4 separate regions of the Homo sapiens genome follow, and all the other regions are linked to region 1. The links are contacts of gene promoters, found by promoter capture Hi-C in blood cells and fetal thymus (Javierre and others, 2016). All regions are on one chromosome and are shown on one strand. Each heading gives the region's core, a stretch centred on a gene start or on the middle of the fragment in contact. The rest is flanking DNA. Distances are from core to core; before and after follow the strand shown. Region 1 holds the start of IER5L (immediate early response 5 like). Region 2 has its middle 37 kb from the start of LINC00963. Region 3 has its middle 20 kb from the start of LINC00963. Region 4 overlaps LOC105376291 (a long non-coding RNA gene).

What was found. Contacts are between HindIII fragments. The CHiCAGO score rates a contact against its expected background, and 5 or more counts as called.
Region 2: a contact is called between a fragment that was not itself captured here and the fragment with the promoter of IER5L in region 1, in 3 of 17 cell types (endothelial precursors, M2 macrophages and non-activated CD4 T cells). The highest score is 5.8, in endothelial precursors.
Region 3: a contact is called between a fragment that was not itself captured here and the fragment with the promoter of IER5L in region 1, in 3 of 17 cell types (M1 macrophages, M0 macrophages and total CD8 T cells). The highest score is 8.8, in M1 macrophages.
Region 4: a contact is called between a fragment that was not itself captured here and the fragment with the promoter of IER5L in region 1, in 5 of 17 cell types (M1 macrophages, total CD8 T cells, monocytes and 2 more). The highest score is 6.9, in M1 macrophages.

What each region holds. Positions count from the first base shown.
Region 1 is chr9:129,176,094-129,181,618 of GRCh38, reverse strand. IER5L (immediate early response 5 like) reads left to right here and starts at 3,358. Exons shown (of 1, transcript NM_203434.3): 1 at 3,358-5,525. The coding sequence starts at 3,567. The coding sequence ends at 4,781. RefSeq lists enhancers at 1,550-2,473, 2,474-3,397, 3,135-3,429 and silencers at 3,154-3,533, 3,764-4,103, 5,054-5,203. The HindIII fragment of the contact is 12,631 bases long and covers 1-5,525 here.
Region 2 is chr9:129,523,214-129,528,738 of GRCh38, reverse strand. No RefSeq gene overlaps it. Among named protein-coding and RNA genes, the nearest start is that of LINC00963, 37 kb to the right of the region's middle. RefSeq lists an enhancer at 3,189-3,689. The HindIII fragment of the contact is 1,927 bases long and covers 2,434-4,360 here.
Region 3 is chr9:129,465,723-129,471,247 of GRCh38, reverse strand. No RefSeq gene overlaps it. Among named protein-coding and RNA genes, the nearest start is that of LINC00963, 20 kb to the left of the region's middle. RefSeq lists enhancers at 885-1,696, 1,697-2,508. The HindIII fragment of the contact is 4,085 bases long and covers 900-4,984 here.
Region 4 is chr9:129,437,743-129,443,267 of GRCh38, reverse strand. LOC105376291 (a long non-coding RNA gene) reads right to left here. Exons shown (of 3, transcript NR_188645.1): 1 at 4,609-5,525; 2 at 4,389-4,505. Among named protein-coding and RNA genes, the nearest start is that of LINC00963, 48 kb to the left of the region's middle. The HindIII fragment of the contact is 4,506 bases long and covers 1,050-5,525 here.

The DNA.
Region 1 (5,525 bases), core at 2,109-4,608:
CGTGGGCACATACATTCTCACACACATGCACACACTGGCTGCCCTGAACCTTTATGCATCCCAGCAGAAGCCTGGCATGCAAACCACCCATTCTATAAACGTTTGTGAATTCCTACTATGTGCCCCCCAAGCCACACCGCTCCCCCGGGCACCAAATAGTGCAGCTGTTCCATTGCCTCCTTCAGCAAGGTTTTCCTGACGACAGCTGTGGTGCCTCCCCTTCCCAGCCCACCTCAAAAAAGACCAAGGGTTTTTATGAAGCTGCACAACTGCTGAGCCCTCCCCATTAGCCCACTTCTCAGTTCTTGAGAAAGAGGAGAGACAGAGTGTGGGCCCCCAACAGACCCAGAGGATGGGGCCACCCAGAAGAGGCTGACCACTTCTCAGCTGGCCCCAGTGAATGAAAGGAACTTCAAAGATCCCCAAACTCACCTTGTGGGGGACTAGGAGGTGCCACGAGGAGCTGCCCATGTGAGGGGCCTGGTCCTTCTGCCCCCAACCTGTAGGTGGAAATCCACCTCCATCCCTGCCCTGTTTCCCCATCTGGGCCCCCAGATTCATGTTCTGGGGTACAGCTCTGAATGAGGGGCTGAGGCTGAGACTGACATTTGCTTCCTTATGGGCCCTGGTCCCACAGCACTTGGCAGTAAAGCGGTGGGGGTCGATCAAACCAAGATCATATTCACCAAGAGCTGGGCCCTGAGAACTGGCCTTGGCTCCACTGACAGCGGAAGCTGATTTGGAGGAACCTCTGGTGAACTCCCACCCTGGAAACAGATGGGTTTGGGCTCAGATCTTGACTCCACCCCTTGCTGGTATGTGACCTCAAGCAAGGTGTGTAAACTCTTAGTTTCCCCCAATAAACACTGGGCCATGACAGAAAGAAGACCCCAAATCAGTGCTGATAATATTTTCTGGAGCTGTGGGCTTGCAGTGTGCCAGACACTGTGGATCCCAGACTTCACTGTTGCATACAGAGTCCTCACAGCTGTAAAGCCGGTAAGAGCTCCCAGATCCCTCTGCATGCTAGTGATGTCTCAAAGGTGAACTTCAAACATAAATAAATAAAGTCTTTTTTTTTTTTTTTTTTTGAGACGGAGTCTCACTCTGTTGCCCAGGTTGGAGTGCAGTGGCGCCATCTGGGCTCACTGCAAGCTCCGCCTCCCGGGTTCACACCATTCTCCTGTCCCAGCCTCCCAAATAGCTGGGACTACAAGCACCCGCCACCACGCCCAGCTAATTTTTTGTGATTTTTAGTAGAGACAGGGTTTCACTGTGTTAGCCAGGAAGCTCTTGATCTCCTGACCTCGTGATCTGTCCGCCTCGGCCTCCCGAAGTGCTGGGATTACAGGCGTGAGCCACCGCGCCCGGCCATAAATAAAGTCTTTGTGTGCCTTTAAGACAGGCACCAGGGAAGTGAAGGGCAGTGTATTTTTACTTCTACGTGTTATCACCTGAGCAAGTTCCACAGCCTGTAGGTCTGTATCACCAATAAAATGTAGGTAGGACATCCTTTATCTGAAGTCCCCTGAAATTTCAATCCTGGCTTCTCTGGGAGGAGGCCTGGAGAGGTGCTATTGGTCACAGGGGCCCAAAGCGTTTGAGATTGTTCGAGGGGGCCAAGGGAAGGACACAGCACCAGCCCTGGGGCCATGTGATCTTGGGCAAGTCTCACGCTGTCAGTGTCCGAGTTTCCTCATCGGAAAAATGAAGTAAACACCCGCTAACTCTGTCTTCACTCTCAACGCCTGGCATGGAGTAGATGCTAAGAAACTTTTGCAGAAATCTTGGAAATTCTTAAGACTAAAGAAAGACCCAGAGACCACAGGGTGGGCTACTGGGTCTCTCCACTCCCACCAAGGGATGAAGTAGGTGCTGAGAACTCAGAAGGAAGCCCCAAAAAGCAGAGACTCAGAAGATCCCCTGAGGAGGCGGTGAAGCAGCAGGACGTCTGGTCATGGGCCTCCCCCCTGAGTCCAGCCCCACAAGGTCCACCTATCTCTGGGAGACTCTGCAGACCTCGTTCATCCTTCAGGGATCCACTCATGGACCCTCCTCAGGCAAACCTCCAGACCATTTCCAAGAGCCTCCAGAGCTGTCTGGGCAGCCCCCACCCCAGGCACCTTTGAAACCCCTGGGAGCAGCAACCAGCCCCCTTCAGGCCTCTTGGTCCAGATAGAGCGCCCCCAGGAATCAGCAATCCTGTCCCTCTCTTCTCCCACTGTCTCAGTCCCCAGCTGGGACCTGAAGGGTTCAGGATAAGAAGGAAAGCTGTGTCAACAGAAGTTAAGTCGGTGAGTCCCCGGGCCTTTGGTATTCACCTCCCGTCTCGAGCGCAGGGTCCTGTCCCAGCTCCTAGCTCCGCCCCCTGGGAACTGTGTGGTTCCCCAAGTCACTCCACTCCTCCGAGCCTCAGGCCCCTCCTCTACAAACGTTAGAGTGAGGCATTGGGGAGTTGCTGGGAAGGGCCTGCCCCATATTAGGCCCATAATAATAGTCCCTATTGTCATTATTATTAGTTAGGCACGAAAGGAAAGGTTACAGAGCTGGTGATTAGGGCACTCAGCGTTTCGGCTCCCAGGACGCTTTTGAGCCTCAGCTGGTCGCGAGGTCCACACACTCCCTGGGTCATGCCTGGCCTCGGAACTCTCTCCATCAGAGAAGGTCAAAATTCACGATGTTTTGGTTTTTCCTGTCAGACAAATGGGGAGGACTTCCCTTCCGCAAGCATTCCCAGAGGCCCCTCGACCAAAAAGTCAAGGAGTCAGGCCCTACATTCTCTGCGGTAGAGGGTACCCCCAAAACCTCGCTCCTTTGATGTTCCCCAGTGTCAAGCCGGCGGCTCCACCAGCCTCCTGTAGAGAGGCCTTGACTCCCGCGGGTCACTCGGGGGGGCGACAGGTGCGCAGGTGGAGGCGCCGCGCCGCTGGGGGAGCGATGAGCGGCGCGCACCTGCCGCAGGTGAGGCCCAGCCGTGCGGAAAGGGGAGGAGCCGTCGCCGCAGCACTCAGGTGAGCCGACCCCCGGCTCCCGGGACCTAAGGCGAGGGCAGCCGCGGGCTTCAACGTGGCCGCTGCCAGGCGACCTATGCTGCAGACTGCGGCCCCGGCGGCTCCGAGTCCCGCGCGGCGCGGCAGCCCCAGGAGAACATTCGAGGCAGCAGCGGCGTTGGAGGCCCGGGGTCCGTTCGGTATTTGAATAGCACAAAGGAACCGCCTTGGTCTGATTGGCCAGCCGAGTAGCCCCGGGGCGGGCTGCGCCTGTCACTCAGGAGACTCTCAGAGCTCCTATTGGCTCTTCTCATGTGGGGCGGGGCCCGGGCACCCGGCTAAATAGCTGGGGCCGGGGCCGGCCGAGACTCATTGCTTTGGCGCCGTCTGGGGAGCGCGAGCCCGCGGGTGGCGCGCGGCGCATGGTGGCGGCTCCTTTCGGAGCGCAGCCGAACCTCTGACCCGGACTCCGTTACCCCTGCCCGGCGCGCCCCGGCGGCCGGCTGGAGGCAGAAACAGCAGAAGCGTTAACAGCAGCAGCGGCGGCGGCTGCTCCGCCGCCGTCTCCGCGGGAGCATGGAGTGCGCCCTGGACGCCCAGAGCCTGATCAGCATCTCCCTGCGCAAGATCCACAGCTCCCGAACCCAGCGCGGCGGCATCAAGCTGCACAAGAACCTCCTGGTGTCCTACGTGCTCCGCAACGCGCGCCAGCTCTACCTGAGCGAGCGCTACGCCGAGCTCTACCGGCGCCAGCAGCAGCAGCAACAGCAGCAGCCGCCCCACCACCAGCACCAGCACCTAGCGTACGCGGCGCCGGGCATGCCGGCCAGCGCGGCCGACTTCGGCCCGCTCCAACTTGGCGGCGGCGGGGACGCGGAGGCGCGCGAGCCGGCCGCCCGGCACCAGCTGCACCAGCTCCACCAGCTCCACCAGCTGCACCTCCAGCAGCAGCTGCACCAGCACCAGCACCCGGCGCCCAGGGGCTGCGCGGCGGCGGCGGCGGCCGGAGCGCCCGCGGGCGGCGCGGGGGCGCTCTCGGAGCTGCCCGGGTGCGCCGCGCTCCAGCCGCCGCACGGCGCGCCCCACCGCGGGCAGCCCTTGGAGCCTCTGCAGCCGGGTCCTGCGCCGCTGCCGCTGCCGCTGCCGCCGCCCGCGCCCGCTGCGCTCTGCCCGCGGGACCCTCGCGCCCCGGCCGCCTGCTCCGCGCCCCCAGGGGCCGCCCCTCCGGCCGCCGCCGCTTCTCCGCCCGCCTCCCCGGCCCCCGCCTCCTCCCCCGGCTTCTACCGGGGCGCATACCCTACCCCTTCGGACTTCGGCTTGCACTGCAGCAGCCAGACCACCGTGCTGGACCTAGACACTCACGTGGTGACCACGGTGGAGAACGGCTACTTGCACCAGGACTGCTGCGCCTCCGCCCACTGCCCCTGCTGTGGCCAGGGCGCTCCGGGACCGGGCCTGGCGTCCGCCGCCGGCTGCAAGCGCAAGTATTACCCTGGCCAGGAGGAGGAGGAAGACGACGAGGAGGATGCGGGCGGGCTGGGGGCCGAGCCCCCCGGGGGCGCCCCGTTCGCCCCCTGCAAGCGCGCCCGCTTCGAGGACTTCTGCCCGGACTCGTCCCCGGACGCGTCCAACATCTCAAACTTGATCTCCATCTTTGGCTCCGGCTTCTCGGGGCTGGTGAGCCGACAGCCGGACTCCTCGGAGCAGCCGCCGCCGCTCAACGGGCAGCTGTGCGCCAAGCAGGCGCTCGCCAGCCTCGGCGCCTGGACTCGAGCCATTGTCGCCTTCTAGGGACCCCCGAGGGCACAGGGACCCGGGGCCCCGCGGGGCTGGGGCCAGACAAAGACTCGGCAAAGGGGCGAGAGGAGGGAACGAGCGGGCGCCGGGCCACTCGGGGCTGAGCTGGGGGCGAGCGGGGGCAGGCGGCTGATGTTTTATAAATTGTAAAATAAAAAAAAAAGAAATCTAAAATCTTGGACTTTATTTTTGCAGAGAGAAAAAGCGCCTATTTAAGTATGCTTTGTGTTTCTCCTACTCCTTTTTTTCTTTTTATTGTAGTGATTGCAGTGGTGTTTAGCGAGGAGCCTACCACGTGAGGGAGGGCTGCTGCCCGGAGGAGGTGCCGGGCAGCCGGGGGCGAGGCAGGGCGCCCTGGCCGCCGGGGCGCGCCGGGGGCGCAGCTCAGGAGGGCGCCGGACCTGGGAAGCCGATTCCAATCAGTTGTCAGACCCGGGAAGCCCGACGTTCCGCTCTCCCGAGTCCCTCTGTGGGGTGAGGAATGGGTCTTGTGAAATTCTGAGCAAAAACAAAGGCAAACTCTATCTCCGAAAGGGACGTTTGGGTCACATTTCCTCTCTGGGGGCGGACTCCAAAGTTCTCAAAATGAGAAGGCAGAAATGAAAACACTTCAACTTTTTTTTTCTTTTCTTCCCGGGGCGGGTGTCTTGAACCCCTCTTCTCCCCGCCCCTCTGGCTCCGTTCTCCTCCCCTCCTCCACCCGTCTCCCGGACTCGGGGGTGGCGCCTGACACCCCGA
Region 2 (5,525 bases), core at 2,148-4,647, 350 kb before region 1:
ACAAAAATACACATAAAATAAAATTTTAAAAACTAAAGAAATTTACTTTAGTAACTTGGTTGATGATCCCTCTCCCTTTTATTTTCTATATTCTTTCTGAGACTCCTCATACTTGGGTGTTAGATCCTCCCAGAATAATTCTGTAACTTTCATGTCTTTAATCTCCTATGCTTTGTCCTTTTGCTCTGCCATCTCAGTTATTTCCTCATCTTTATCCTTATCTTCTAACCCTTCCACTAAGCTTTTAATTTGTGCTATCCAAATGATATGAGATATTTTTTGTTCTCAGAATGTTCCTTTTTTTTTTTTTTGAGACACAGTCTTGCTTTGTCACCCAAGCTGGAGTACAGTGGCACGATCTCTGCTCACTGCAACCTCCGCCTCCCAGGCTCAAGCAATTCTCCTGCTTCAGCCTCCCAAGTAGCTGGGATTACAGGTGTGTGCCACCACACCTGGCTAATTTTTGTATTTATTTATTTTTTTTTTAGTAGAGATGGGGTTTCACCATGTTGGCCAGGGTGGTTTAGAACTCTTGACTTCAAGTGATGTGCTTGGCTCAGCCTCCCAAAGTGCTGGGATTACAGGTATGAGCCACTGCGCCTGGCCAGAATGTTCCTTTTTGATAACATCCTGTTCTTGTTTAATGTGTGCTATAGCTCATCTTTGGTACTACTAATGATAATTTTTTTTTATATTTTCTTCTTATCTCTTTCCCTAAGCTTTTTTCTTTAAAAAAAGATCTATTTGTTATTGTTTGTCTCCCCCAAGTGCCTTGGTGACCATTGGCTTCTGTGTGTAGAGGCTGCTAGGAAGCTGAGAGCTCAGAGTTTGCTACCCACCAGGAACTTCACTGTTGGGTGATCTGGCTGGGTTCCTTCATCAGTGAGCTCACAATGTCAGTGTCTTTAGATCTTTGCTCTTGGGCTTCTCAGATCCCCAGGGAATTATCTTTGAATCTCCTGCCTACAGGTTCATACTAAGCCTGGATGCCAACTGGGAGTCTTCATATTCAGTACAAAGACCCTCACTGTATTCCCCTGTTTTCAATAAGATGCACCCCGTCCCCAGCTGGACTTACTTTTCCTCAGTCCAGAGACCCTTGGCTTTAGCCGCTCTGCAGAATAAACCATCTGTCTTCTGCTGGGGTGTGGTAGAGAGAGTCACCTTGGGACGTTACTGATGGCTCTTTAAACTGTCTTTCAACAAATCCCCTGTGGTTCAATATGCTCCTTACCTCTGCTGCCAGAAGCACCTGGTACTCAATTCCTAGCCTTTGGGGGTTTCTTTTGTGTCTAGGCCCTCCTTACTGCCAGTTTAGGACTGTTTTTTTTTTCATCCACTAAGGTGGTTCTCACTCATCCGTCTGCTTTCCAATTTGAAAATTTTGTTTCTCTTACCTCACATCCCATTTTCTTTGTCATTGTGATATTTTGAAAATGCCTATTCTGCCATTTTAAAGGCATTTCAGGAGGTAGCAGGGATAAATACCTGCGTTTATTCTGCTGTCTCTAACCAGAAACTCTGCTTTTTTTTCATAATATCTAATTCATTTTGATATTTCCCAAAACTTCTTTATGTCTTTTTTTTTTTTTTTTTTTTTTGAGATAGAGTCTTGCTCTGTCACCCAGGCTGGAGTGCAGTGGTGCCATCTCGGCTTACTGCAACATCCACCTCCCAGGTTCAAGCGATTCTCTTTCCTCAGCCTCCCGAGTAGCTGGGACTACAGGTGCACACCACTATGCCCAGCGAATTTTTGTATTTTTAGTAGAGATGGGATTTTGCCATTTTGGCCAGGCTGGTCTCGAATTCCTGACCTCAACTGATCCACCTGCCTTTGCCTCCCAAAGTGCTGGGTGTCTTTTTTTTCTTTTTCTTTTTAGACAAGGTCTTGCTCTGTCACCAAGGCTGGAGTGCAGTGGCACGATCATGGCTCACTGCAGGCAGCCTCGACCTCCCAGGCTCAAGTGATCCTCCAACCTCAGCCTCCTGAGTAGCTGGGACCACAGGCATGCATCACCACGCCATGCTAATTTTTGTATTTTTCATAGAAATGGGGTTTTGCCATGTTTCCCAGGCTGGTCTTGAACTCCTGGGCCCGAGTGATCTGCCAACCTCAGCCTCCCAAAGTACTGGGATTACAAGCATGAGCCACTGCACCTGGCCTGTCATTAGTAATTTTAATCATAGCTATTTTATGGTCTCTATCTCCTGGATCTATCATCTGGGGTTCTTGGGGTGTCCACTTGTACTGTTGGTTTTGCAGCTGGATCTCACTTATGGCTACTTTTGTTTTGTAATTTACCTTTGTGAGCTCATCTGCAGGGGCATCTGTTGGTGGGAACCCTGGGCAGCCTGGGTTGAGGTCATAGCCCTCTAGTGCACGTTTGCATTTGTTTCTGCCCCGTGCCAAGGGACCTGTTTTTGTGTTAAGCTTTTGCTTTGGGAGTCCCCAGAGCCTATAAGTAGCAGTCTAAATTTAAATCTCAAACCCCCTGAGGCTAAGCCTATGGTTACAAATTCCCAGAGCAGCCTGCTTTCCCCACTCCAAGCCCAGGATGTGGCAGGTGATCTGCCTGAGTGGAGACTGGTTTTTACCCTTCTCTACCTTTTCACTGAGAATGTAACTCTGGAGAGTCTGGTTTGGGGGTGGGTCTCATTTACAATCCCTTGCTTTGTGGAGCCCAAAGCCTCATTTATTGTCCCCAGAGGGGCTATAAACTCCAATCCCCAGACTGCAGAGACCAACACCCTCCACCTCACCCATGCTGCTCACACCACACCAACATCGGCTGCCTGATTCCTGCTCTAGTTTTCAGCTACTTCTGTGTTTTTGTCGCCCGATTCCTGCTCTAGTTTTCAGCTGCTTCTGTGTTTTTGTCCCTGGGGAGTTCTTTTCCTTTCTTGCAAGCTCAGCCATGCATTTAAAAGGATAGTTGTTATAGTTTGGCCACCATTTCCAAGTAGTATGTTGTAGCAGGAGGGTTTTCTGCTGTCTAGCCTGCAATATGGCTGGAAATGGAAGTCCAGGGTTTTGTTTGGCTATTTTTTGGTTTCCTTAAAAATGCTTTTTGTTACAAAAATTAGCTGGGCGTGGTGGCATGTGCTTGTAGTCCCAGCTACTCAGGAGGCTGAGGCAGGAGACTCACTGGAACCCGGGAGGCAGAGGTTGCTGTGAGCTGAGATTGCACCACTGTACTCTTGCCTGAGCAACAGAGCAAGACTCTGTCTCAAAAAAATAAAAAATAAAAATAAAAATGCTTTTTGCATCTCTGTATTCCCTGCAGCAGACCATCAATAGTGGTCCATGAATATTGGGGAAATGGAATGGAATTGCCCCATTTCTACCTAATTGGCAATTGTGCCAAGCAGTCCTGCTGTTTGGAGCAGGAGTCTTAGAGAACAAAGGACCATATTCATACTCTTGAACCTGGTATTGAAGGCCCACCCTGGCCTGGACCCAACCTGCCTCGGGTCCCATCTCACGGCTGGCCAGTCTCTCTGGCATTCTGCCCTCCAGCCACACACCTGATCAAAGGCTCCGTGCCACCCTGCTTTGAACTTCCTGCTCCCACCGTCTGGCCCAGGCTGAACGTCCACCCACACACATTGCCCACGCGTCCCCTGCAGGCCCTGGCACTTCACTGTGGCTGTTTACTTGCTGTCTTCTCTGCTGCACCAGACTTGCACTCCCTGGGGGCGAGGCCGGCCTCCTCTCCTCTCTGTATCTCCAGCATCCTCACAGTAGCTGCATAAACATCCAAGGCGCTGGAGAGATGTGTGTCTAATGCGCCAACGAGCAAGCCGCATTCCCACTCCACCAGCTCCAAGCACCAACTTTGCACTTTACAACATTAAAGCAGCCGTGGCAGGCCCCTTACTAAACCCAACCTTAACCTCACTCCCCTGTCCCAGATGGTCCCAGATACTGCAGGAGCAGAACTGTCGTCTGGCATTTTAATAGGGAGGTGACAGGTCATTTGGGTTAAAATGGACTCTAATTAGTCCTCGTAAGAGCTCAGCCTGGGGGAGGGTGAGAAGGAGCAGACCTTTGACGAAGTGAGAGAGCCTCACCTGTTTTGACACACTAAAAAAAAGGGCAGAGAATGTTGGGTGATAATGATGTGTCAGTGTGGGTTCTCAACTAACACATCTGGTAGGGACATTGATAATGGGAGGCTATGCATGGTTGGGGCAAGGGACATATGAAATGTCTCAACACCTTCCTCTCAGTTTTGCTGTGAACCTAAAACTGCTCTAAAAAGAAAAAAAAAAAGGGTGGAGGCAGGGGAAGACTTGATCACTGGCTCCTCCCCAGCCCCGCCCCTCTCCCTCTCCGGGGTGGGGTTCTAGAGCCCAAGCTTGGGAGGAGAGATCTGTTTCCACAATGGGAACCAGATGTCTGTCTCCCCAAACCTGTGCCCCCTCAAAAGCAAGAGATGCAAGTTCAGCAACTTTGTCTGTGTGGGTCCCTTGGTGGCCAGGGCAGATGACTGGAAGGAAGGTTACAGTGGCCGGCTCACAGTGAGGTTACAATGCACTTTCCCTCCGTGATAGCTGTCTGACCAAGACACACCGGGAGGAACTCATGGAGACTTAGAGATGAGAAGGGACTTGCTCAAGGTCACAAGGCAAGCGGTGGTGACACAGCGGAGGCCAGGGCTGCACTGTCCTGCACGCAGGGCACTCAAAATGTGGCTAGCCTGAACTGCTGTGTGCCTTGAGTGTGAAATGCACACAAATGCAAAGACTTAGTATGGAAAAAAAAGTAAATATCTCATTAATAATTTTAAATATTAATTACCTGTCAAAGTGATAATATTTTGGATCTATTGGGTTAAATACAAATAGTATGAGAAATAATTCTACCAGTTTCTTTTTTTCTTTTTTTTTGAGACAGGCTGGAGTGAAGTGGCGCAATCTCGGCTCACTGCAACCTCCGCTCACTGCAACCTCCGCTCACTGCAACCTCCGCTCACTGCAACCTCCGTTCACTGCAACCTCTGTTCACTGCAACCTCTGCCTCCTGGGTTCAAGTGATTCTCCTGCCTCAGTCTTCCAAGTAACTGGGGCTATAGGCACACACCACCACGCCCAGCTAATTTTTGTATTTTTTAACACAGATGGGGTTTTTCCATGTTGCCCAGGCTGGTCTCAAACTCCTGGCCTCAAGTGATCTGCCCGTCTTGGCCTCCCAAAGTGCTGGGATTACAGGCGTGAGCCACTGCGCCCGGCCCCAGTTTCTTTTTATTTGGTTTTAATGTAGCTACCGGAACATTTAAAATGGCTTATAGGTCTTGCATTTGTCTAGCGCTCAGGCCAGGTGACTCCTCGGCAGATGTGAGGGCCAAGGGGCCTCTGCCGGCTCCGGATTAGATGCTGTGGGTTCAGGCCTCAGCTCCACCACTTTTGACCTGTCTGACCTTCCTACGACAACAGGCCCCTCCCTGCACTCCAGGCCCCAGTTTTCTCACCCATAAGTGGGCACAGTTGGGCCCCCAGAAAAGCCAAGTAGTCTGAGGTTCAAA
Region 3 (5,525 bases), core at 1,693-4,192, 290 kb before region 1:
ATCTGATACCCTTTCCTATACACACTGCGACTCGTACTGTGGAAACCTGCAAACGTGTGCTCGTTGTTGATAGTACAGCAATACCAGCCTCTTCAGCCAGCATTTTTTCTGTGCCGGGCCCCATGCCATGTGCACAACCCTCACCAGCACCTGGGACTGTTCTTACCCCCACTTTACAGATAAGCAAGTTAAGGCACAAAAAACACTTAGGTGTCTTATCCAGTGATCCAGGGAGGCCAGGCACTGTGGCTCACACCTGTAATCCCAGCATTTTGGGAGGCTGACAAGGGCCAATTGCTTTCACCTAGGAGTTTAAAACCAGCCTGGGCAACATGGCGAAACCCCATCTCTATGAAAAATACAAAAATTAGCTGGGGGTGGTGGCGCATGCCTGTAGACTCAGCTCCTAGGGAGGCTGAGGTAGGAAGATCACTTAAGCCTGGGGAGGTCAAGGCTGCCGTAAACTGTGATTGCGTCACTGCACTCCAGCCTGGGAGACAGAGTGAGACAAAAAAACAAAACAAAACAAAATACAAAACTGTGACCCAGGGACCACCTGCAGGGAGTGCCTGTCCTGGCCATGCCTGGATTTCTAACCCCATCCTTAGTGTCTGCCTTCCGGCCTCCTGGGTTTTACTGCCTCACAAGGGGCCCTTTAGGAACAATTGTTTTGTTTTGTTTTGTTTTGTTTGAGATGGAGTCTCGCTCTGTTGCCAGGCTGGAGTGCAGTGGCGCAATCTCACCTCACTGCAATCTCTGCCTCCCGGGTTCAAGCGATTCTCATGCTGCTCAGCCTCCTGAGTAGCTGGGACTACAGGTGCACACCGCCACACCTGGATAATTTTTGTATTTTTAGTAGAGATGGGGTTTCACCACATTGGCCAGGCTGGTCTCAAGCTTCTGACCTCCAGTGACCCGCCCGCCTCAGCCTCCCAATGAATAATTGTTGAATGAATAAAGGAATGAGAAGTCAATTTTCTCCAAGGTGCTTGTGGCTGACTTGTCCCGCCCCAGACCATGCAGCTCCACTGCTCCCCTTTCCCCGCACATCTCCCCACGGATTTGGGTCCCACTGAGTGGCAGAGACCAGAAGCCCTGCCTCGCCTCAGCCTGGACTCGCTGTGTGACCTTGGTCAGAGGAAGCAACATCTCTGGCTTTCTTTTCTTCTTCTGTGCAGGAGTCCCTGCCCAAACCACATCTTCTCTCTCTTGTGATGCTCAGACCAAGGAGCAAGCCGTGGGGTGGGAGGACCTCCAGTGCCTGGGAGGAGCAGGGGGTGCTTCACACACAGTGCGGCGAGGCTGAGACCACGTTCTCAGGGGAGGAGAGTGGCTCTGGGCCTCGCGACCTCACACCCTCCCTGTAGGTACCGAGCTACGCATCCCCGCCTGGGTGCAGCTTGTGTTGGAAAAGAGTCCCTGCCATCCAGAAGCCCCAGAGCCCCGCCCACCCTACTCTGGTTGCAGACCCTTCCAGCATCTTTGGCAGCCTCGCCACCCCTGGGCACAGCAGGAGCAACCCCAGTGCCCAGGGATGAAGCACCTACCGTGTATCAGGCCCTCCTGGAGCCCCAGCTCACTGACCCTAACAGTGACCTCCTGGGGCAGTCCTGTTTTTATCCCCACTTGATGGGTGGGAAAACAGGCTCAGAGGGGCCAGGTCACCAAGTGTCACAGCTCCCAGGAGCACGTCACAATTGCATGGGGAAGGGGGAGGGGTTGCTAAATGCCCATTCCTGGCATTCCTGGGCCCCTCCGCATCAGCAGAACGAGTCTCTGGACCGGCTGGGAAGCTGCAGTTTTCCTCAGGTGCACTGCTCACGGGAGTTTCATGTAACCTGTGGTCCGTGGAGGCACAGAGAAGAAAGGGTCAGGGCCAGGGTCCCTCAGCAGGGAAGGGCCAGGGCCAGGACGTTGGCCTCCAGGCTGGAGGGCTTGGCACATCTCAACAGCCAGTGGCTGTGTCCCCATGCCAGGATCTGTCCCCTGGTTCCTCTTCCTTACCGACAGGAAAGGACACATGGCTGCACTCAGGCAGTCTAGACATGTGTGCACGTGTGCACATACATTCGACACAGTGTCATGCCGGTGCACACTGTCCACACACACACACACACAGGTACACTGTGCACACACATTCGACACAGTGTCACGCCGGTGCACACTGTCCACACACACACACACAGGTACACGGTGCACACTGTCCACACACACACACACGTACACTGTGCACACTAGACACAGTGTCACGCCGGTGCACACTGTCCACATGCACACACACAGGTACACTGTGCACACACATTTGACACAGTGTCACGCTGGTGCACACTGTCCACACACACACACACAGGTACACTGTGCACACTGTCCACATGCACACACAGGTACACTGTGCACACTAGACACAGTGTCACGCCGGTGCACACTGTCCACATGCACACACACAGGTACACTGTGCACACACATTCGACACAGTGTCACGCCGGTGCACACTGTCCACACACACACACAGGTACACGGTGCACACTGTCCACACACACACACACAGGTACACGGTGCACACTAGACACAGTGTCACGCCGGTGCACACTGTCCACATGCACACACACAGGTACACTGTGCACACACATTCGACACAGTGTCACGCCGGTGCACACTGTCCACACGCACACACACAGGTACACTCTGCACACATGCAGAAACACTGTACACACTTGCACACAGTTGTACACTGTGCACACACCTACACGAGACACACATGCACACTTGCACACATATGCACTCCCCACCTGCACACATGATGCACACTGCACACACACATGCACACATATGTTCACACATACACACACCCACACCTGCACATGTGCCACTGGTGTTGCATTCTGTGACCACCCACTGGCTGCAAAGTCAGAGCCTTCTCCGACCCTAAGGCAGCGGCTGCCAATTTATGTGCTCCTTCACTCAGGCACCTGACAACAATGCACACAGGCGAGCAAGAGAGGCCAGCACCTGCCCTCAGGGAGCTTCCTGTAGGGCAGCCCCAAGTAGTTCAGGTTTCAGAAGCGTTTTGAAGACTGCAATGATGGAGGGAAGGCAGAGCATGCGGCCTGGGCCAGATCCTTCCTGGGAGAGGTGACGTCCAAGCTGAGATCTGAAGGTAGGGGCAGCCCTGGGAAGAGCTGGGGACACCTAAGTGGCAGGAGTGGCAAGTGCAAGGCTGGAGGAGAGGAAGGGGCGGAACTGTGGGAAATAGAAGGAGACCAGGGGCTGCGAGGAGGAGCAGGTCAGTGCTGGGAGATGACCTCGGTGGAGCCTTGGGTGGGGCCGGTGCCTGGACACGCGGGGCCTGACGCAAGCCCAGTGCATCTTTAAAGGGTCCCTAGGCTTCCCTGGGGCTGCACTGAGGAGGTGGGAGGGAAGAAGGAGGCAGGACGCCCAGGGAGGCTGGTGTCCTGGGAGAGATGGTCCAGCTGTACTTGGGGGTGGCTGGGGGGAGAGGGGGGACAGATTTGGTGGCAGAGGGAGCAGGACTTGATTATGACTGAGTATGGGGGGAGGGAGTCATGGAGGACCCCACATTTTGGGAGCTTAACTTTTCAGCACTTGGAACCAAGGAGCGGGTGAGGTGAGGAGGGCAGGGGGTTGGGGTGAGGAACCAGCCATAGGCTGGGCACCCCCAGGACTGCTGTTCCACTTCTCTTCTACAAACTCTCCTGGGGCCTGTGGGCTCTGACCGCTGCCACCCCCCACCCCCTCATTCTCCTGTGTCCGATCAAGGCCCCGTGCAGTGTTTGCTCAGCTGCCAGGCCCTCTGGGGCGGGTGGCTGAGTCTGTCCATCTGCATCTACCCGTCTCAGAGACGAGGAAACCTAAGGAACAAGAATGGGGGGCTGAGAGAAACCCCCACCACCCAGGGCAAGGCCCTCCTCCTCTGCGGAGCTTGGGATGCCTCATCCGGGAAGTGGGAAGTCCAGGCCGAGGCTTCTGTCCTCTGCTGGCTGCAGGCAGGGACCCCATGTCCTGGGACTTGGCCCCAGGACTGCCAGCTGTCTACCCATGAGGCCTCCACCTGCCACAGACCTGTGGGTTTCCATCCAGTGCAGCTCCCCGCTGCAGCCTAAGAAGGGCAGTTCTAGGGGCAGGACTGTACTGAGGAACCCAGCAGAGCTGTGGGGACTCAGGGCCATGGAGAGTCCCCCTACCCACTTCTCTTCTATGGGCTGCCTCAGAGATGGCCCCCCATCCAGCCCATGGCCCACCCTCTTTGACCCTCACTTTCTTGTCCTGTCAGATCTACCCTCTATACCTTCTTTTTATTTTTATTTTTTTTTTTTTTGAGACAGGGTTTCACTCTGTCACCCAGGCTGGAGTGAGTGCAGTGGCACCATCACAGGTCCCTACAGCCTCAACCCCCTGGGCTCAAGCGTTCCTCCCATCTCAGCCTCCCAGGTAGCTGGGACTACAGGACCACATCACCATACCTGGCTAATTTTTGTATTTTTTGTAGAGACAGGGTTTTGCTATGTTGCCCAGGCTGGTCTTGAACTCCTGGGCTCAAGCAATCCTCCTGCCTCAGCCTCCCAAAATGCTGGGATTATAGGCGTGAGCCACTGCGTCTGGCCTACATCTTTTTAATCACTTCCCTTCCCCGACTTTTGCCGCCCTGGTCCAGACCCCCATTATCATCCAGATGTCTGCAGCAGCCACCTTGGTGGCCTCCCTGCTTCTGCTCTGCCCTGCAATCCTTCTTCCAAAGGATAGCCAGAGCAGTCTTTCTGGAAGGTGCTTCTGAATATGTTACTTCCTGCCTAAAACTTTCCATGGCTCCCCATGACCCCTCCCACCCCGTGGGATATTGAAACGAACATGCCTGCAAGCCGTGTTCTAATGAGTCCTGTTCCTCTCGCCCCAGGCCTTTGCGCACACTGCGTGCCCCTTGCCAGAGCATCCCACACCCTCAGCCTGGTTGACTCCTATTCAAGCTTTGGGTCTCAGGTTAGACCTGCTCTTCTAGAAGCCTTTTGTGCTCCCTCCCCCTAACAATAGGCAAGGTCAGGGGCTGCCTCCAGCCTCCCATAGACCCTGGTGCCCCCATTATACCCCTGACCACACTGGGCCCGTCTTCGCCTCTGGTGCCTCTCCATGCCTGGCACACAGTAGGTGCTCAGGAAGGAATTGTGGATATCGCCTTCCCTCCAGGGAAGGGCGGGGGGATTGCTGAAAAACAAGACCTGCTCAGACCTCCCGGCTACATGTGGAGGGCAGAGAAGGAGGGGCCCTGGAGCTCACACCAGAGACACAGCTCCTGCGTGGGCAGGACCTACATTCCTGACTCGGGAAGCCATTGAATAATAATTGTCATAGCAAATGGAATTCCTCATCTATATGTTCCCAACACAGTTCCATGAACGATCTTGATCCATCACCACCAAGGGAGGAGGTGCCTGGAGGGCACTGCCCACAGAACCCCACGCCCTGTGCTGAGAGCTGCACCTGCTCAGGCTCATTCTGTGCCCTTATCACCC
Region 4 (5,525 bases), core at 2,053-4,552, 260 kb before region 1:
ATAAGTGGTTCGTGCCCAAGCACAGCTTCCCTGGCCCACCCCAGCCTTCTCCCAGCTGGGGGCACAGCACCCAAGCTCAGCCTCCTGCAGCACAGGTGGCCTCCTGCACGTGACAGTGTCTGGATCCTCCCACGGACTATGGACCTTTGGGCACTGGGCGCCTGGAGCACTCACTTAGTTGCTCTTTCATTGGACCGAGATGAGGAATAGTTGCCTTTTTCAATCCTGCAAATCCAACATTTCTGGATTTTCTCTTTCCCTTTCATTTCTGCTTGCAAGTAGGTTAATTCCCTTAGATCCCATCTCCTGTCTGTAGGGCCCTGTGAAATGCGGCGTATTCGTTTGCTAGGGCTGTGGTCACAAAGTCCTGGGTGGCTGAAACACAGAAACACATTGTTTCACAGTTTGGGAGGCTGGGAATCCAAGATCAAGGTGTCAGCAGGTTGGTTCCTCATGAGCGCCGTAGGGAAGGATCTGTTCCAGGCCTCCCACGTTGGTTTATGGATGGTTGATTTCTCCCCGGGGTCTCCATGTCATCTTCCCTCTGAACATGTCTGGGTCAAATCGCCTCTTTTTTTTTTTTTTTTTTTTTTTTGAGACAGAGTTTCATTCTTGTTGCCCAGGCTGGAGTGCAATGGTGCGATCTCGGCTCACTGCAACCTCCACCTTCTGGGTTCAAGTGATTCTCCTGCTTCAGCCTCCTGAGTGGCTGGAATTACAGGCGCAGGCCACCACGCCCAGCTAATTTTTTTTTTTTTTTGTATTTTTAGTAGAGACGGAGTTTCATCATGTTGACCAGGCTGGTGTCGAACTCCTGACCTCAGGTGATCCACCTGCCTCGGCCTCCCAAAGTGCTGGGATTACAGGCGTGAGCCACTGTGCCCAGCCTTTTTTTTTTTTTTTTTTTGAGACAGGGTCTTACTCTGTCACCCAGGCTGGAGTGCAGTGGCAAAATCATAGCTCACTGCAGCCTCGAACTCCTGAACTCAGGTAATCCTCCCACCTCAGTTTCCCAAGTAGCTAGGACTACAGGTGTAGCTTTTAAAGCTTCTGCTGGCCACTGATGTGTGGTCACTTCTGCTCACATTTCACTGGCCAGAGTAAGTCACATGGCCAAGCCTCGTCAGAGGGCGTGGAAGGACGTTCTGGGGACAGGATGGTATAACCTGCTTAGGAGAAGGAATTGCTGGGCACAACGGCACCATCTATCATCCGGCTGGCACTGGTTAAGGCTTACGTGTGTGGGGCTTTGTGCCAGCAGCTTCACACCCTTAGCTCATTGACTCCTCATGTAGCCCCATTTTATAGGTAAGAAAACTGAGGCTTTGAGAGGGAGAGAGACTTGCTCATCGATCATAAACAAGATTAACTGACAGACTGAGAAAATCCTGAAGGTCTACATGCTTCTCAGGTCTTGCCCCGTTCCATCTTCTTGAGGCCAGGGTGAGAAAATCCTTGGCCTAGGATGTAGCCCACGCGGAACACTCACAAATGGTAGTGGAGTTAAAGATCTGAGTTGAGGCCAGGCGCGGTGGCTCACGCCTGTAATCCCAGCACTTTGGGAGGCCGAGGCAGGTGGATTACCTGAGGTCAGGAGTTCGAGACCAGCCTGGCCAACACGGCAAAACCCTGTCTTAACTAAAAATACAAAAATTAGCCAGGCATGGTGGTGCATGTCTGTAATCCCAGGTACATGGAAAGCTGAGGCAGGAGAATCGCTTGAACCTGGGAGGCGGAGGTTGCGGTGAGTTGAGATCGCGCCAATTGCACTTCAGCCTGGGAGAAACTCCGTCTCAAAAAAAAAAGATCCTAGTTGGGTGTGGGGGCGTCTTGAGCCAGCAATGCAGCTGCACATCCCACCAGGGTGCCGGAAGAGCTTGCTCTGGGGGAGCCCACACCCCACCTTTCAGCTCAGCTCTGCCTCCACCGTGCCTGCAAATCTAGGTGCTCCCCAGAGTGCACAGGGTCAAGGGAGGGCAGGGGTTTACAGAAGTAAATCCAACTCCTCCTGGAGGAAAGGGAGAGAAGGAGCCTTGTGCATCCCAGGACCCTGTGACCCTGTGATCACTCCTTTGCGGCTGAATCTCCCAGGCTCTAAGTGCCTCTGGGGGGTTATGAATTTCTTGTCTGCTTGTTTGTTTCAGCAGGGGTGGGCAGGGGGCAGAAAAACCTTATGTTCTTTTTATTATGCTCCTCATTTTACAGATAGAGAAACTGAGGCCCAGGGAGGTTAAAGCCACTTCCCACAGCAAGGGCTGATGATAGATCCAGGACTCAAGTGCAGCTGGGGCGGGCGCTGGGAGGACTGGGCACTGAGGCCCCAGGTGAGCCTGTATTAAGGAGGCTGAGGGTGGGGCTGGATGGGAAAGTGGTGGTGCGGACGGGGTTGGGGGGTGGGCGCTTCTCCCCCCAGGCCACCCAGGTCTCAGAAGGACAGAGGGGGCAAGACAGTGATTCTTGGAGAGATGGATTTAGTCTAGGGGGTCCCAGATAGTGAGAAAGAGAGAACCAGGCAGGGGCCCGGGCCCACGTGCAAGGGACAGTGTGAGAAGGAAACACACACACACACATCCCACCACAGACTTTTTCTGGTTTTGACACCCAACTCAGAGAAGGTCTTTTTACATTCAGATTTCTGAAAATGTCGTTAGAAACAATAATGACGATGGCAAGCCTTCCCTGAGACCTCACAGCATTTCAGGAAACTCGCTGAAAGGCTTTGCCTGGACTCCCTCATGGAGCCCTCACAGCTGCCCTGTGAGGTGGGTGCCATTACTGTCCTCTTATTATAGATTGGGAAACGGAGGCTCCGAGGTGCCAGAGCTTGCAAACCGATGGAGGTTGGCCAGACTTCATGAGCCACACTCTGAATATTCCCTTTGAGGCACAAACAACAGAATCAAGAAGGAGGCCACGCGCGGAGGCTCACACCTGTCATCCCAGCACTTTGGGAGCCGAGGTGGGTGGATCACTTGAGGCCAGGAGTTTGAGGCCAGCCTGGCCAACATGGCGAAATCCCATCTCTCCTAAAAATACAAAAATTATCTGGCTGTGCTGGTGCACACCTGTAGTCCCAGCTACTTGGGAGGCTGAGGCCGGATAATCGCTTGAACCTGGGAGGTGAAGGGTGCAGTGAGCCGAGATCACACCACTACACATCAGCCTGGGTTAACAAAGCAAGACTCTGTCTCAAAAAAAAAAAAGAAAAAAAAGAAAGAAAGAGAGAGAGAGAGAAAGAAAAAGAGAGAAAGAAAGAAAGAAAGAAAGAAAGAAGGAAAGAAAGAAAGAAAAGAAAGAAAGAAGAAAGAAAGAAAAGGAAAAGAAAAGAAAAGGGAGGGAGGGAGGGAGGGAGGAAGGAAGGAAGGAAGGAAGGAAGGAAGGAAGGAAGGAAGGAAGGAATCAAGAAGGAAAGCCCTGCCTGCCTTGCCACAAAGCTCTAGGCCTCCCACCCTCCTCCCTGCTGAGTCAGGTGCCCACTGTGGACTCGAGGCTTTGGGTTCCGCCAAGATGGCCAGATAGGGACTTCTATGCTGGTTTCCCTGACGCCATTTCCCTCCCAGCCCTGGCTTTCCAGAGCCCTAAACTGCCTTTCCCTATGAAAGGGGATAGAGCTTCCCACAGCCACCCGTGCCTCTCTGTGACTATCAGAACAGGGGCCCCACTGACACCAATAATGATGCCTGCTGTATGAGGCCAGCCTGTTCTCTGCAGCCCTGAGGTCAGAGGACAAAACGAGACACAACCTATGTGCCCATCCTCTGGGGATTGGATAACCACATACAGGTACATGTGCACAATGGAATACTACGCAGCCAGGAAAAATAATGAGGTGCAATAAATTGCCAAACAGGACATATAATATTGACTGGCATTTTTAGGGAAGCGTGGTGGCTTCCACCTGTAATCCCAGCACTTTGGGAGGCCAAGGTGGTAGAACCACTTGCACCCAGGAGTTTGACACCAGCCTGGGCAACATAGTGAGACTCTATATCTAGAAGAAATAAAAAATTCGCCGGGTTTGGTGGCCTGTGCCTGTAGTCCCAGCTGCTCGGGAGGCTGAGGTGGGAGGATGGCTTGAGCTGTGATCATGCAACTGCACTCCAGCCTGGGCAAGAGAGCAAGACCCTATCTCACACAAAAAAAAGTTTCTATAAGTATCTGTATTGACAGAAAAACTCCAACCCTGAATGTGCTAATTACCCTGATTTGACCAATACACATTGTATATGTGTACTAAAATATTACACTGCATCCCATAAATATGTACAATTATTATGTGCCAATTAAAAATAATAATACAAGCCAAAAAATAGGACGCTGCACTAGAGGCTGAGGTTACGTGGATGAATAAGGCACGTGGAAAAAACAACAACAACAACAACAACAACCTCACTTCAGGCAAAAGTAGGAGGCTTCCTCAACACAGCCCGGGGTTCTTTCCTCCGCTCCTGCTGTCTCGCTTCCTCCTTGGCATGGGCGCTACACGGTGTCTCGGCGCCACTCCCCTAAGTTAGGAACAAGCGAATTCCGAGATGAACGGTGCAGTCCTGGCCTCGAGGGGCCCTACGGAGTGGGGCAGGTGGGCACATAAATAAAAAACATCATCACCTGAATGGCGTGAACCCGGGAGGCAGAGCTTGCAGTGAGCCGAGATCGCGCCACTGCACTCCAGCCTGGGCGACAGAGCGAGACTCCGTCTCAAAACAAACAAACAAACAAACAAACCATCATCACAATGACCGGGGGTGGGGGCTTCTCCAAGTGCTTGATGCTCTGCCAAGGAATTCACTGGCATTAACTCGGGGACCCCTGACCATAAGTGAGTTTTCTCATTTTACCAGTGAGGGAACCGAGTCTCAGTTAGTGCCCTGGGGAGCAGATTCCGTCTTGCCCTGGGGGTCTGGGCCTCAACTCCGGAGCCTTTTCCGGGAGAGAATCCTCTAGCCGCTGAGCTAGCGGCTAATCACCCCCCAAAAGCAACAGAGACAAAAGGCAAGGAAAGGGGTTGCACAGAGGGTGGAGGCAGGACAGGTCCCGGTGGCTGAGCCGCCTCCCCCCACCTCGTGCCTAACCACGCACAAGTGGATTTGGTCCTGGAAGCACACACCCCCTCCGGAGGTGCCATGGGCTCCATCTGAAGGTCAGAGAGGGGACAGTGGCCAAGGCCATCTGGAAAGTGCCGCGGCAAGGGTTCAAACCCTGTCGGCCTGATTGCAAAGGCCCTGTCGCCCAGCGTGGGACCCAGCAACCGGCGCTGTCCAGAGACCCCGGTCCTTGGCCCCTGCACAGGCTTGGCACGGAACACGTGCTGGATACGCAGTCAGCCTCCTTCCTTGTCCTCCTTCCGCCATCATGTGACCTTGGTCCCACCGTTCTCTGTTTCCAGGCCTCAGTTTCCCCATCTGCAGAGAGAGGGGGTTGTCCTAGGGGTGCCCTGGCTCCCCTGGAAGCCTCCAGTACCTTAGATTTCCACTGGGGAAGCCAGGAAGGGCAGGTAGGGCCCCCTGGGGCTGGAGCAAATTTGG